2 separate regions of the Homo sapiens genome follow, and region 2 is linked to region 1. Evidence: promoter capture Hi-C in human tissues and cell types (Jung and others, 2019). All regions are on one chromosome and are shown on one strand. Each heading gives the region's core, a stretch centred on a gene start or on the middle of the fragment in contact. The rest is flanking DNA. Distances are from core to core; before and after follow the strand shown. Region 1 holds the start of AHRR (aryl hydrocarbon receptor repressor). Region 2 has its middle 15 kb from the start of CEP72-DT.

Evidence for each region. Contacts are between HindIII fragments. The study calls those that stand out against the background at their distance.
Region 2: a fragment that was not itself captured here is called in contact with the fragment with the promoter of AHRR in region 1 in 1 of the 25 tissues and cell types used here (lymphoblastoid cells).

The regions. Positions count from the first base shown.
Region 1 is chr5:316,856-322,963 of GRCh38, reverse strand. It overlaps AHRR (aryl hydrocarbon receptor repressor), which reads right to left and starts at 1,250. Exons shown (of 11, transcript NM_001377236.1): 1 at 1,145-1,250. The region is part of intron 3 of PDCD6-AHRR (PDCD6-AHRR readthrough (NMD candidate)); the gene reads right to left. RefSeq lists enhancers at 239-358, 447-1,014, 4,148-4,447 and silencers at 599-658, 669-1,048, 1,139-1,628, 1,779-2,038. The HindIII fragment of the contact is 29,634 bases long and covers 1-6,108 here.
Region 2 is chr5:594,536-600,643 of GRCh38, reverse strand. No RefSeq gene overlaps it. Among named protein-coding and RNA genes, the nearest start is that of CEP72-DT, 15 kb to the left of the region's middle. The HindIII fragment of the contact is 4,530 bases long and covers 1,443-5,972 here.

The sequences.
Region 1 (6,108 bases), core at 1-2,500:
CTAAGAACCTTTCTCCCGTGGTAAAACTCGTGTCTGTTCATTTTAGAGAATACAGATAAGTAAGAAAACGAAAATAAAAGCCGTTCCCCAGGCGGTGGCGTCCCCCCCGTCGAAGCGGCTCCCCAGGCGGCGGCGTCCGCCGGGTCAGCATCCTACGTTCTCCAGTTCTTGTTACTCGTGGCTTTTCAGCGACTCTGGGGCCGCATCGAGCCCCGGCTTTGTGCGGGATGGGTATGGCACACTCGGCCCGAGTCCAAACGCCGCCAGTCACTTGCTCTGAGAGGCTGGATGAGCGACCTACCTTGATGTCCTCGTTCGTAAAATGGGTGACGGTTGCCAGGCCGGGGCGGCTGTGAGGCCCCGTGGGGGTGGCGTTTGGAGAACGCGCGCACACGCCCACCCTTCTGCAAGAACCCCGCAGACGAGAGCCTGTGCGCGCGCACAGGAGGCCCAGGGAGGAAGCCCCTCCCCGCCTGCCCTTGCCATCCCGGAGGCCACAGCCGGACAGGCCCGTGGGACAGGCCCGTGGGACGCTTCTGCACAAGGTCTCTGACCTCCGGCCTCGCAGAAGAGGTCAGAGGGTGGCCCCTGCCTGTCACGCGCCCATGGCGACCCCTCCCCAGAAGGGGTCCCAGCGTGGACTCCAGGCGCCACATCGCTCTCTCAGGGCATCCGGTCTGGGAATTCTGGCCGCTCAAAATAAGACTTCAGCGCTACTGGGTGCTACTGAAACCAAGCCTGAACATGGGCCTTTCCCGGGGGTGAGGCCCCCCGGACCTGGCGCCCTCGGCCCGACAGCGGGGCCCCGCTCCGCCGCCCGCACCCGCCCAGCCCCAGGGAGCGCGGCCCGCACGGAACGCCCGGGGAGTGAAGGCTCAGAACACTCTCGAGGGGACGCTGAGGACCACGAACCGTGGACGCGCCGCGGCTTCCCTCCGAGGTCCGAGTTTTAAGTGAGACCAGCCAGCCGCACCCCAGAGTGTCCGCCCCGTCCCGGGGCCGCCGGGCCTGGCGACGCGAGGATGCGGCGTGAGGAGGGTCCCGACGCCGGCGCCCGTCCCTCAGCCCCACACCCGGGAGCGCATCCCGTCTCCACCGCGGGCGGCACGCGGCGGGGGCCTGCGGGGGCGCCCAGGACACTTACCCAGGGCCTGCGGGGCGCGGAGGCTCAGGCACACCCGCGGGGCAGCGCGCCCTGGCCAGGAGCTGTGGCGGCGGGTGCCGGCGCTCGCATCCCGGGAACCCGCGGCGGCTCCAGGGACTGCCCCACCCCGGCACGCGAGCCGCCCGCCCCGCCCCGCAGCATCCAGGGCCGGGAGGCGGCAGAGGGCGCCCGCGGGTCCGGCTGTCTCGGGTCCGGCTGCCCCAGCTGCCCTGGCGAACCGGAGACGCCATCCGGTTCCCCTGGGGTCCGCCCTGCGCCCTTCGCGTCCCAGTGATCCCCCGGAGTCTCCGTGCCCCGAGGCGGGGGTCGCGCGCTGAGCCCCTCCAGGCCCTGCGTTCCCCCTGGGGTCTGTGTGCGCCCAGGGTCCCCCGGTTCTCCCTGCGCCCCCGTCCCCTCCCCAGCGCTCGCGGCCGGCTGTGCTGAGCTGCCGGCCCTAGAGCCGGGCGGTGTAGACCCGAACAGGTAAAGTGAGGAGAGCGTGTGCCCCCTCGCCTGCCCCATGAGGTCGTTTCGAAAATGTAAAAGGAGTCATGGTTTTTGGCGAATTATAGAGAATATTAAGATGCTTTTGGATCCTGAGCTTCCCAGGAAGCGGACGCGCGCCAGGCACGGCAGGGTCGTCCGTGCGACGTTCTTCGTCCTGGGCATTTCAGGGTCCCACGCGGCAGGTGTGCGGCCCTGGGTGCCCCTGCCCCGCCCACCCCGCCGGTCGGCACCCGGGACCGCGCGGCCGAGAGCAGGGTCCTGCCTGCAGGTCCTTAGGGCTCACCCCGCGCCCTCTGCGCGCCCGCCGGCCCCTCCGACCTCGGGCTGCGCCTTCTCCTTCCCCCTCCCGGTGGTCCTTGGCCCCCTCTAGTCCTCCGTCCGGGCGCGCAGGCCCTGGCTGAATTCCCTGTACCCTCAGGGGATCCCTGGGGACACCTCAGCCTGGCCTCGCACCCTGACGTCTCCACAGACCCTGGCCGGCTTCCACCCGTTCTCGCCCTCGCTGGGGCCGGCCATGGAGTCGGTGGTCCCTGGAGTCCGCTCCTCAGCATCCGCGGTCCTCATCCCAGCCGGGGGAACCGCGCCCTCTTCATCCCGCAAGGTCGGTTTTCAGCAACGCGGCCGAGGCTGTCACTGGCGCCCCCAGGTTCTCAGTCAAACCCCGTCTCCCTGACGCCCCCAACCCGCCCCGCGCCTCCTGCTGTTCTCTGAATAAGGCGTGCGGGCCTTGGGGCCTTTGCACTCGCTGTCTGCTGTCGGCTCAGGAAAAGTCTCTTTTCCAGACACAGCTCCCAAGGTGGGGTGGGCGCAGCTGAGAAGCCCACCCTGCCCCCAAGTGGCCACCGCCCCTCCCCGGGTGTAGCTCCTGCAGGGCAGCCCAGAATTGCTGAGTTCTGCCGCTCTGTCCCCAGGGGTCACCAAGTCGGCTCTGCTCACCTCTGGTTCCTGTCGAATAGCAGAGGCTCAAAAATGTGAGCTGAGTAAATGGGCTTTTTTGGGACAGAGTCTTGCTTTGTCACCCAGGCCTGAGAGCAGTGGTGCGATCTCAGTTCACTGCAGCCTCTGCCTCCAGGGCTCAAGCGATTCTCGTGCCTCAGCCTCCCAAGTAGCTGGGATTACAGTCGCGCGCCACCACACCTGGCTAATTTTTTTTTTTTTTTAAGTAGATAGTGGTTTTGCCATCTTGGCCAGGCTGGTCTCGAACTCCTGACCTCAGGTGATCCACCCACCTCGGCTTGCCAAAGTGTTGGGATTACAGGCATGAGCCACTATGCCACTGAGACAGCCAGGAGCCCTGGGTGCACACATTTATTTTTTGATATGGAACAATGTGCAACTATATTGCTGTATTTTTAAAAATCATTAGTTTTATCTTGATCCAATTTTTGTAAAGTGAATTATGCACAGAAAATGTGTAGCTGGATAACTCTGAGGTAACAGGTGAACTTTAATTTCTTTTTACTTTTTGAAAAGTCTACAATTCCTGTAAATTTTTGCAAGAAGCACATAGTACCTTTGTGATCTGTTAAAATAAGAACCTGTGGGTAGAATGTGATGGTGGTGAGCCGCAGTCCCCCTGCATGGGAAGACAGCACCCCCATGTCTCAGGGCAAGCACGGGTTCCCTTCCACCTACCCTGTCCCACCAGAACCAACTGGAATGAGACACTTTGTTACTCTATTTCCTGGGTACAGAAGGAAACTGCTCCTCCTTCCTTCCCACTGCCCTTGACCGGCACAGGCCATCCACGCCCACCTGTCCCCTGTGCTTGTCCCCAAAGTCTCAGGTCTCTGCAGGACCTGGGGCAGCCAGTGGGACTGTGCAGAAAAAGGATGACCCTGCCGTGGGAGCCACTGCCCCTAAAGTCTCAGGGTTTAGCAGGCAGAGCCCCACGTGGAGTCCTGGAGTCTCTGGGCACCCCACCAGCACAATGGGGGATCCCTGAGCCACCTCCCGTTCAGACGGGCTATTGGGCGTGCCTCCCTCCCCACCACGAAGGTCCAGATGCAGCTGACACCCCCAGTCACAGAGTCTCCTTTCTGCCTCTGTGCTGGGGACCCTGTTCAGGAGGTCTCCTCCCTCCAGTCCGGACTTGCTGTCCCCAGTGTCATTGAACCCTCTGGCTCCCACCCACACTCCCAGCAGCTGGAGACACACCCCTTTCTCCTGGGCCACTGGTCCTCTCGGGACTCTGAACCAGAGGCGCTAACACCTGGCAGGGATGGCAGCTGGGGCAGGACTGGAAGCCTCCGAGGACCCACCCCCAGCTCCGGGTACCCCCACACTGGAGTCTGGTGCGGTGGGTCCCCAGAGCCATATGAGCTGGACTTGGCCTCCAGTGGACCGCCACATGGCAGGTGCCCACGGCCGGCTGCAGCGCCAGGCCCCTCCCAAACAGGCCCAAGTTGGCTTCACAGAAGTGTGGGGGCAAAGCTGCTCTTCATGGGCCTCCAGGAGTGGTGACTGTGACTGCCCCCTCCTGTCCTCTCCTGGCCACACCTTTGCCTCCCACAGGCAGGCCAGGTCAGGAGCCCCCAGGGCCCTGACCTCAGAGGCAGACAGGGGTGTGCTGACCCCTCGGGCCAGGCCAGGACCCCGCACAGGCGCCTGCGGCTCTCTGGCTCTCTGATGGCGGCTGGGTTTCCCGGGTTCCCCGGGTTCCCCATGACTGCTGTGTCTCCAGCGTTGATGCCTCACAGGGAGCCGCTTGGGCAGCCCTGGTCACGCCTGGGTTCCCTCTCTCTCCCACACCAGTTTCTCCCTGGTCACGCCTGGGTTCCCTCTCCCACACCAGTTTCTCCTGTAGCACAGAGAAGGACCTGGGGAATTTTGTCTTTTGTTAAAAACCACAAGGGAGCTCCCTGCTGGGCACAGTCACGGTGGCGCCCGTCAGAGCTGCTTCCAGGGTGCATTCCATCATTCCAAGTTCACTGTGCTGGAGTCAGCTCTCTGCTTGCCGCAGGGTGAGGGGGGGAGGTGGAGGGTGAGGGGGGAGGTGAAGGATTGGGGGAGGTGCAGGGTTGGGGGGAGATGCAGGGTGGGGGGAGGTAAAGGATGGGGGGAGGTGCAGGGTTGGGGGGAGATGCAGGGTGGGGGGAAATAAAGGATGGGGGGAGGTGCAGGGTTGGGGGGAGATGCAGGGTGGGAGGGAGGTAAAAGATGGGGAGAGGTGCAGGGTAAGGGTGGGAGGTGCAGGGTGCGGGGGGGAGGTGGAGGGTGAGGGGGGAGATGAAGGGAGGGGGGAGGTGAAGGATTGGGGGAGGGAAAGGATGGGGGGAGGTGCCAGGTGAGGAGGGAGGTGAAGGATGTGGGGAGGTGCAGGGTTGGGGGGAGATGCAGGGTTGGGAGTAGGTGGAGGGTGAAGGGGGGAGGTACAGGATGGGGGGAGGTGCAGGGTGAGGGGCAGGTGCAAGGTGAGAGGGGAGTTGAAGGGTTGTTGGGGGAGGTGCAGGGTTGTGGCGGGGAGGTGCAGGGTGGCTGTTGGGGGAGGTGCAGGGTTGTCCGGGGAGGTGTAGGGTTGTGGGGGGAGATCAGGGTAGGGAGGGTGGGGAGGCATGGGCCAGGGGCCCCAGGTGAGGGTGTACGGCGTGCACCTGCACCTCCATGTCTGCACTGATGACTGAGGACCCAGAGCGGGGGGAAGGAGAGGCCCCCAGAGATGGCTGTGCCCCCATGTCCTGCTGTCTTGGGTCTTGGGACCGGGGTCGTGACGCTGAGGGTCCCTGGTGGGTGGTCGTGGCCGCTGGCCTGGCCTGGCCTCCGCGACCCAGCCTCACCACACTGGGCCTGCGCCAGGCACCTGGTCAGCTGTCCACCCCCTCCACCCCCAAACCCAGGCTCTGAAGGGTCACAGGGCACAGCCTGCCTGACAAGGGAGAGCTGAAAGGGCGAAGGCCCGTCTCTCTGTAGTCTTCTCTCTGCGGCTATAAATCCCATGGCTGTGTCGGGCAGGTCCTCCCGGTCAGTCAGCAGCTCCCGAGAGCTCCGTGGTGCAGCCGCACTGCCCCCACGTGGCCCAGGCTGTGTGCAGCTGCCTGGCCCTTGGGGCCTCAGAGTGCAGTGAGGTTTAGCTCAGGGGCTTCCCTCACCCAGGAAGGCGTGGGTGGCCTCCCTGCAGGCGCCTGAGGATGGGGTCTGTGCTGGCAGTGTGGCTGGGCAGGGGGCACGGCAGCCCTGCTTCCCTGCGGGTTGGCACCCCCTCCACAAGGAATCCACCACAACTCGTGAGCTCACTGCCCTCCAGGGACCCCCAGTTTTGTATCAGTGACTCCGGCCAGGAGAGCAGGGGAGTCCCCCCTCCACACCTTCTGCTTCGAGAGGCTCCTCACCGCCTCCCTCCCTTGACTTCTGATGGCTGGGAGCTCCCCGGGGAAATGTCCCTCCCAACAGCCACAGCCCACCAGCCCAACAGGCTCTCTGCATCCAGGGGTTCCTTTGCCAGCAGGCCGGCCTGACAT
Region 2 (6,108 bases), core at 2,458-4,957, 280 kb before region 1:
ACCCTTCCGCATAGACGAAAATCAACTCTAGATGGATTAAAGACTCAAATGCAAGACGTCAAACTATAAACATCCTGGAAGACAACGTCTTCTTGACGTTGGCGTTGGCAAAGAACGCTGGCTAAGTCCTCAAAAGCAATTGCAACAAAAACAAAAATAGACAAGTGATACCTAATTAAACTGAAGAGCTTCTGCACAGCAGAAGAAACTGCCAACGGAGGAAACAGACACCCTACAGAATGGGAGAAAATGTCTGCAAACTATGCATCTGACAAAGGCCTAATATCCAGCATCTATAGGACGCTTACACAAATCAACAAGCAAAAAACAACCCCATTAAAAAATGGGCGGCCGGGCGCGGTGGCTCATGCCTGTAATCCGAGCACTTCGGGAAGCTGAGGCGGGCGGATCACAAGGTCAGGAGATCGAGACCATCCTGGCTAACACGGTGAAACTCCGTCTCTACTAAAAAATATTAAAAAATTAGCTGGGCGTGGTGGTGGCCGCCTGTAGTCCCAGCTACTCGGGAGGCTGAGGCAGGAGAATGGCGTGAACCAGGGAGGAGGAGCTTGCAGTGAGCCGAGATTGCGCCACTGCACTCCAGCGTGGGCTACAGAGTGAAACTCTGTCTCAAAAAAAAAAAAAAAAAGGCAAAGGACATGAACAGATACTTCTCAAAACAAGACATACAAGTGACCAACAAGTATAAGAAAAAATTCTCATTATCAGAGAAATGCAAATCAAAACCACAATGAGATGCCAGCTCAGCAGTCAGAATGGCGATTATTACAAAGTCAAAAAAACAACAGATGCTGGTGAAGCTGAAGAAAAAAGGTGATGCTCACGCACTGCTGGTGGGAACATAAATTAGCCCAGGCCCGTGGAGAGCAGTCTGGAGATTCCTCAAAGATCTTAAAACACAGCTACCATTCAACCTAGCAATCCCATTACTGGGTATATACCCAAAAGAAAATAAAGGATTCTGCCAAAAGGACACATATGTTCATCACAGCGTTATTCACGATAGCAAGACATGGAACAAACCTAGGTGCCCATCAGTGGTGGACTACATAAAGAAAACGTGGTACATATACACTGTGGAATACTACGTAGCCATAAAAAGAATGGAATCGTGTCCTTTGCAGCAACATGGATGCAGCTGGAGGCCATTCTCGTAAGCAAATTAATGCAGGAGCAAAAAACCAAATACCGCATGTTCTTACTTACAAGTGGGAGCTAAACATTGAGGACACGTGGACAAAAAGATGGGAACAAAAGTCACTGGGGCCTCCTGGAGGGTTGGGGATGGAGGATTAAAGAACTTCCTTCAGGTATGATGCTCGCCATCTGGGTGATGGCACCCGTCCTCCAAACCTCAGCATCACACAATATTCTCATGTAACAAATCTGCACGTGTGCCCCTAAATCTAAAATAAAAGTTGAGATTTTAAAAGTAAAGTAAGATAAATGTCATATCAGTTATTCGATCCGTCAAACGTTTCCTTTAACACCTTAAATAGAAACAGTCATAGGTATTGGAAGAATAAAGAATTGGAATGGAAGTCCACAGAGGCAAAATGGGCAAACAATTAACATATGTAAGCAGGTATTTGTTGTTTCTAGTAGGTCTCAATGTTGTTTACACATTTGGTTGGTTGTTTTTGGTGAATATTCACTGGATTCAAGTAAGTGGTTCATTTTCTAATCCCTGGAGTGAAGCCGCTACAAACAGTCGTGTGTAGATTTTCCCGTGAAATAAACTTTCATTTCTCCAGCATGCATGTCCAGGCAGGGGGTTGCTGGATCCCAAGGTAAGCATAGTTGTAACATTAAAATACACTGCCACCTTGTCGTCTGGAGCAGCTGCCGCACGTCACACCCCCAGCAGTGGCACAGGAGAGCCAGGGGCTCCGCGTCCTCGCCAGTGCTGGGTGTGACCACGCGTTTCCTTTTTCCTCGCGCTGTTCTCACAGGTGTGTGGTGGTTCCACACATCAGTGGTGTACATTTTTATTCCCTCGTGGCTGACGATGTCGAGCATCTCGTGTTCTTATCTGCCATCCAAATGTCCTTGGTGAATGAGTTCTTCCCTCTTTTGCCCATTATTCATCTACTCGTGTTGTGTTAAGTGTGTTTGTGTTTCATTCTCTTGGCAGGGCTGTCAGTGGGACTGAGACTTAAACTTCAATTCCCACGTGTTCACTGTTATTAGATAAAAACGCCATTGACACGTGTGTGCCAATCTTGTATCCTGTGACACTGCTGAACTCATGGACTAGTTATAGGTGAGGTTTTTGTGTCTTTTTTGGTAAATTCCTTGGAATGTTCTACATAAACAATTATGCTCTCTGTAAATAGAGATGGTTTTCTTTCTCCCTTTCTTGTCTGAATGCCTTTTATTTCCTTCTCTTGCTTTATTGCACTAGCTGGGACTTTCAGGATGATGTTGGCAAGGATGGGAGTGGGGACCGCCTATCCTCATTCCAGATTTTAGGGAGGAAGTATCCAGTTTTTCACCACTATGTGCGACGTCATCTGTGGGTTTTTAATGGATACATTCCATCCGGTTAAGGAAGTTCCTCACTGCTCCTAGTTTGCTGAGACTTTTTCCATGAATGATTCTTGAATTTTGACATTGTTTTTTGCGTCATTTGAGATGATCGTGTGTGTTTTCTTCTTTGGTCTGTCAATACAGTGGAGAGTGCTGATTGAATTTCAGATGTTTAGCCAGCCTTGCATGCTACTGTCACAATTTATACATTTGCATCTATGTTCATGGGAGATATTTGTACGTAGTTTTGTTTCTTGTACTGTCATTTATCTGGCATTGGCACTGGAGTAATGCTGTTTTCATAACATGAGTAGGAAAGCATTTCTCTTCTATTTTCTGGAGGAGATTGTGCAGAATTGGTAATATTTCTTCATTACCTGTTCATAAAATCTGCTAATGAAACCATCTGTGTCTGGAATTTTCATTTTCAGAAAGTTTTTCTGCTATGAATTCAATTACTTTAATACAAAAGGGTTGTTCAGGCCATCTATTTCTTGTTGAGTGAGTTTTGGTAGTTTGTGGCTTTTAAAGAATTGGCTTATTCCTTCAAAGTTGTCAGATGTATATGCAGGGAGTAGCTCATAATGTTCGTGCATTGCCCTCTTAATGTCTGTGGGTCAATAGTGATATATCCTCTTTCATTATTGATACTGGAAATTTATCTCTCTTTCTCCCTTGCTAATCAGTCTGGTTAAAGCTTTATCAATTTTACTGATCTTTTCAAAGAACCAGCCTCTAGTTTATTGATTTTTCTTTGTTGTCTTTCTGTTTTCTATTTCATTGGTTTCTCTTATCTTTATTCTTTCCTTCCTTCTGCCTGCTTTCAGTTTAATTTGCTCCTATTTTCGTAATTTCTTAAGGTGGAAGCTTAGATTGTTGATTTATAATTTTCTTCTGTTTTTAATATTAGCATTTCTTTTCTAACTAAATGCTTGTAGGGCTATAAGCATTTAGTTCTATAAATTTCTCTCTAAGCACTGTTTCATTTTGCTATATTTTTCATTTTCATTCAGTTCAAGTGATTTCCAGTTTTTCTGAGCCATTCTCCTCAACATTTGCATTGTCTAAGGAGTGTGTTGTTTAATTTCCACCTATTTGGAGGTTTTCTAGGCATTTTTATATTATTGATTTCTAGTTTAACACCATTGTAGGTTTTTTGTATTTTAAATTTTTTCACATGCATTTTATGACCAAAAAGAAAGTGTATGTAGATGTTGTTTGGCAGAACGTTTTATAAATGTTAGTTAGGTCCAGTTGGTTCCTGGAGCTGGTCAGTTCTTCCATATCCTGCTAATTTACTGTCCACTTTTCTATCAGCTACTGAGAGAGGAGTTGTTATGGACTGAATTGTGTCCCACAAAATTCACATGTTGAAGCCCTAACCCCCAATGTAACTGTATTTAGAGACAGGGCCTGTAAGGAGGTGATTATGGTTGCAAGAAGTCATATGAGGGGGTCCGATTCAATAGGACTTATGTCCTTACAAGAAGATGGAAAGAAGCCAGGAATCATTCACTCTCCACACCAGCACAAAAAAATACCATGTGAGAACACTGAGAAGTCAACCCCAACAGCCTTCATCTTGGTCCTCCAGCTTCCAGAATGGTGAGAAAACAAATTTTTGCCCTTTAAGGCCCCAGTCTGTGGTATTTTGACATGGCAGCCCTAACCAACTGAGATGGGAATGTTGGGGTCACCAATTCCAGTATGGAGCTGCCTGTTCCCTTTCAGGCAGCTCTATCGTCTTTGTCTTGTGTGTTTGGAAGCCCTATCGTTGGGTGCATATGTGTTTAGGATTACTAGGTCTTCTTGGGGAGTTGATCCTTTGTCATTATGCAACGTCCCTCTTTACTCTTAGGAATTTTCCTTGCTCTGAAATCTACTTTGTCACTCCAGTTTTTTTAATTGGTGTTTGCTTGGCATATCTTTTTCTATCCTTTTATGTTTAATCTGCCTATATTTTGTATTTAAAGAGGGTTTTTATAGACAGCCTGTAGATAAGACTTGCCTTTATCCAGTCTGATAATTTCTGCCTTTAATCAGTATGTTTAGATCATCTACATTTATATTCATTACTGATGTGTCTGAATTTAGGTCCAGCATTTCTTGCATGTCCTCTATTTGGCACCTCTGATTTTTTCTCCTTTTCCCCTTTGCATGTCTTCTTTTGGATTATTGGGATATTTTGTGGTATTTCATTTTGATTTATCTAATGGTTTCTTGAATTCTATCTCTGTGTATTGTCATTCTAAGGATTGCAATATACATTCTAACTCCTCCTCACCTTGCCAGTCTATGCAGAATTAATATTTTACCACTTCTGGCTGGAATGCTGGGACCTTGTCCCCACCAAGGCCCCTTCACTGTGCCCTTTGTCACAGTCATCGTATTGCACCTGCACATATTGAAAATTCAACCAAGCAATGTTGTTAATTGTTGCTTTCAACCATCATATGTACTTTAAAGACTCATCTACATGCTGTCTACAAGAAACTCATTTTCAATGTAATGATACAGACTGTTTCACAGTCAAAGGATGGGAAAAGAGCTATCAGGCCAACATCAGTTACACAAAAATCCTCAAACAGCTCTATTCATGTGAGACAAAATAGATTCAGAGCAAGAAAAGTCACTTGGGGTAAAGAGGAGAACAATAGTGTGCTGTGTTTCCTTGGACATTTACTGCTTGTCTTGCCCTTTCTTCCTTCTTGGGGTTGTGGGTTTTCCTCTGTATCTTCCCTCAAGCTGAAGAACTTGCTTTGGCATCTTTTAAAGCAGGTGTGCCGGCAACAAATTCTCTTAGTGCGTCCTCACTGGAGATCATCAATTTTTCTTTCATTTCCGAAGGGTGTTCTCGCGTCGATTTTTCCTTCGTTTCCGAAGGGTGTTCTCGCATCGATTTTTCTTTCGTTTCCGAAGGGTGTTCTCGCGTCGACTTTTCTTCATTTCTGAAGGGTGTTCTCGCGTCGATTTTTCCTTCATTTCCGAAGGGTGTTCTCACGTCGACTTTTCCTTCATTTCCGAAGGGTGTTCTCACGTTGATTTTTCATTTCTGAAGGGTGTTCTCGCATCGATTTTTCCTTCGTTTCCAAAGGGTGTTCTCGCATTGATTTTTCCTTCATTTCTGAAGGGTATTCTCGTGTTGATTTTTAATTCATTTCTGAAGGGTATTTTCGGTCGATTTTTTCATTTCTGAAGGGTATTCTTGCATCGATTTTTCCTCCATTTCTGAAATTCTCACAGATGCACAACTCTGGCTTGGTGCTTCCTTTGGTTTCTTGTTTTCAATGTTCTTCCACATCCTGGTCTGCACAGCATCTGATGAGAAACTGCAGCCGGGATTATTGTGCCCTGTAGGGGATGTGTCATTTCTGTCTGACTGCTTCTCTGGAACTAATTAAATAAGTTAAACCAGTGCTTTTTCTCCAGGAAACACTTGGACACCTGTCTTTTATCACCTACTTGTCACTGTGGGAAACTCAGCTCTCAGCCCAGGGGGTAAAGCAGATGTTGACAGGTGGTTGGAAATCAATTGCCCTCCTTGGCTGACATGAGCCC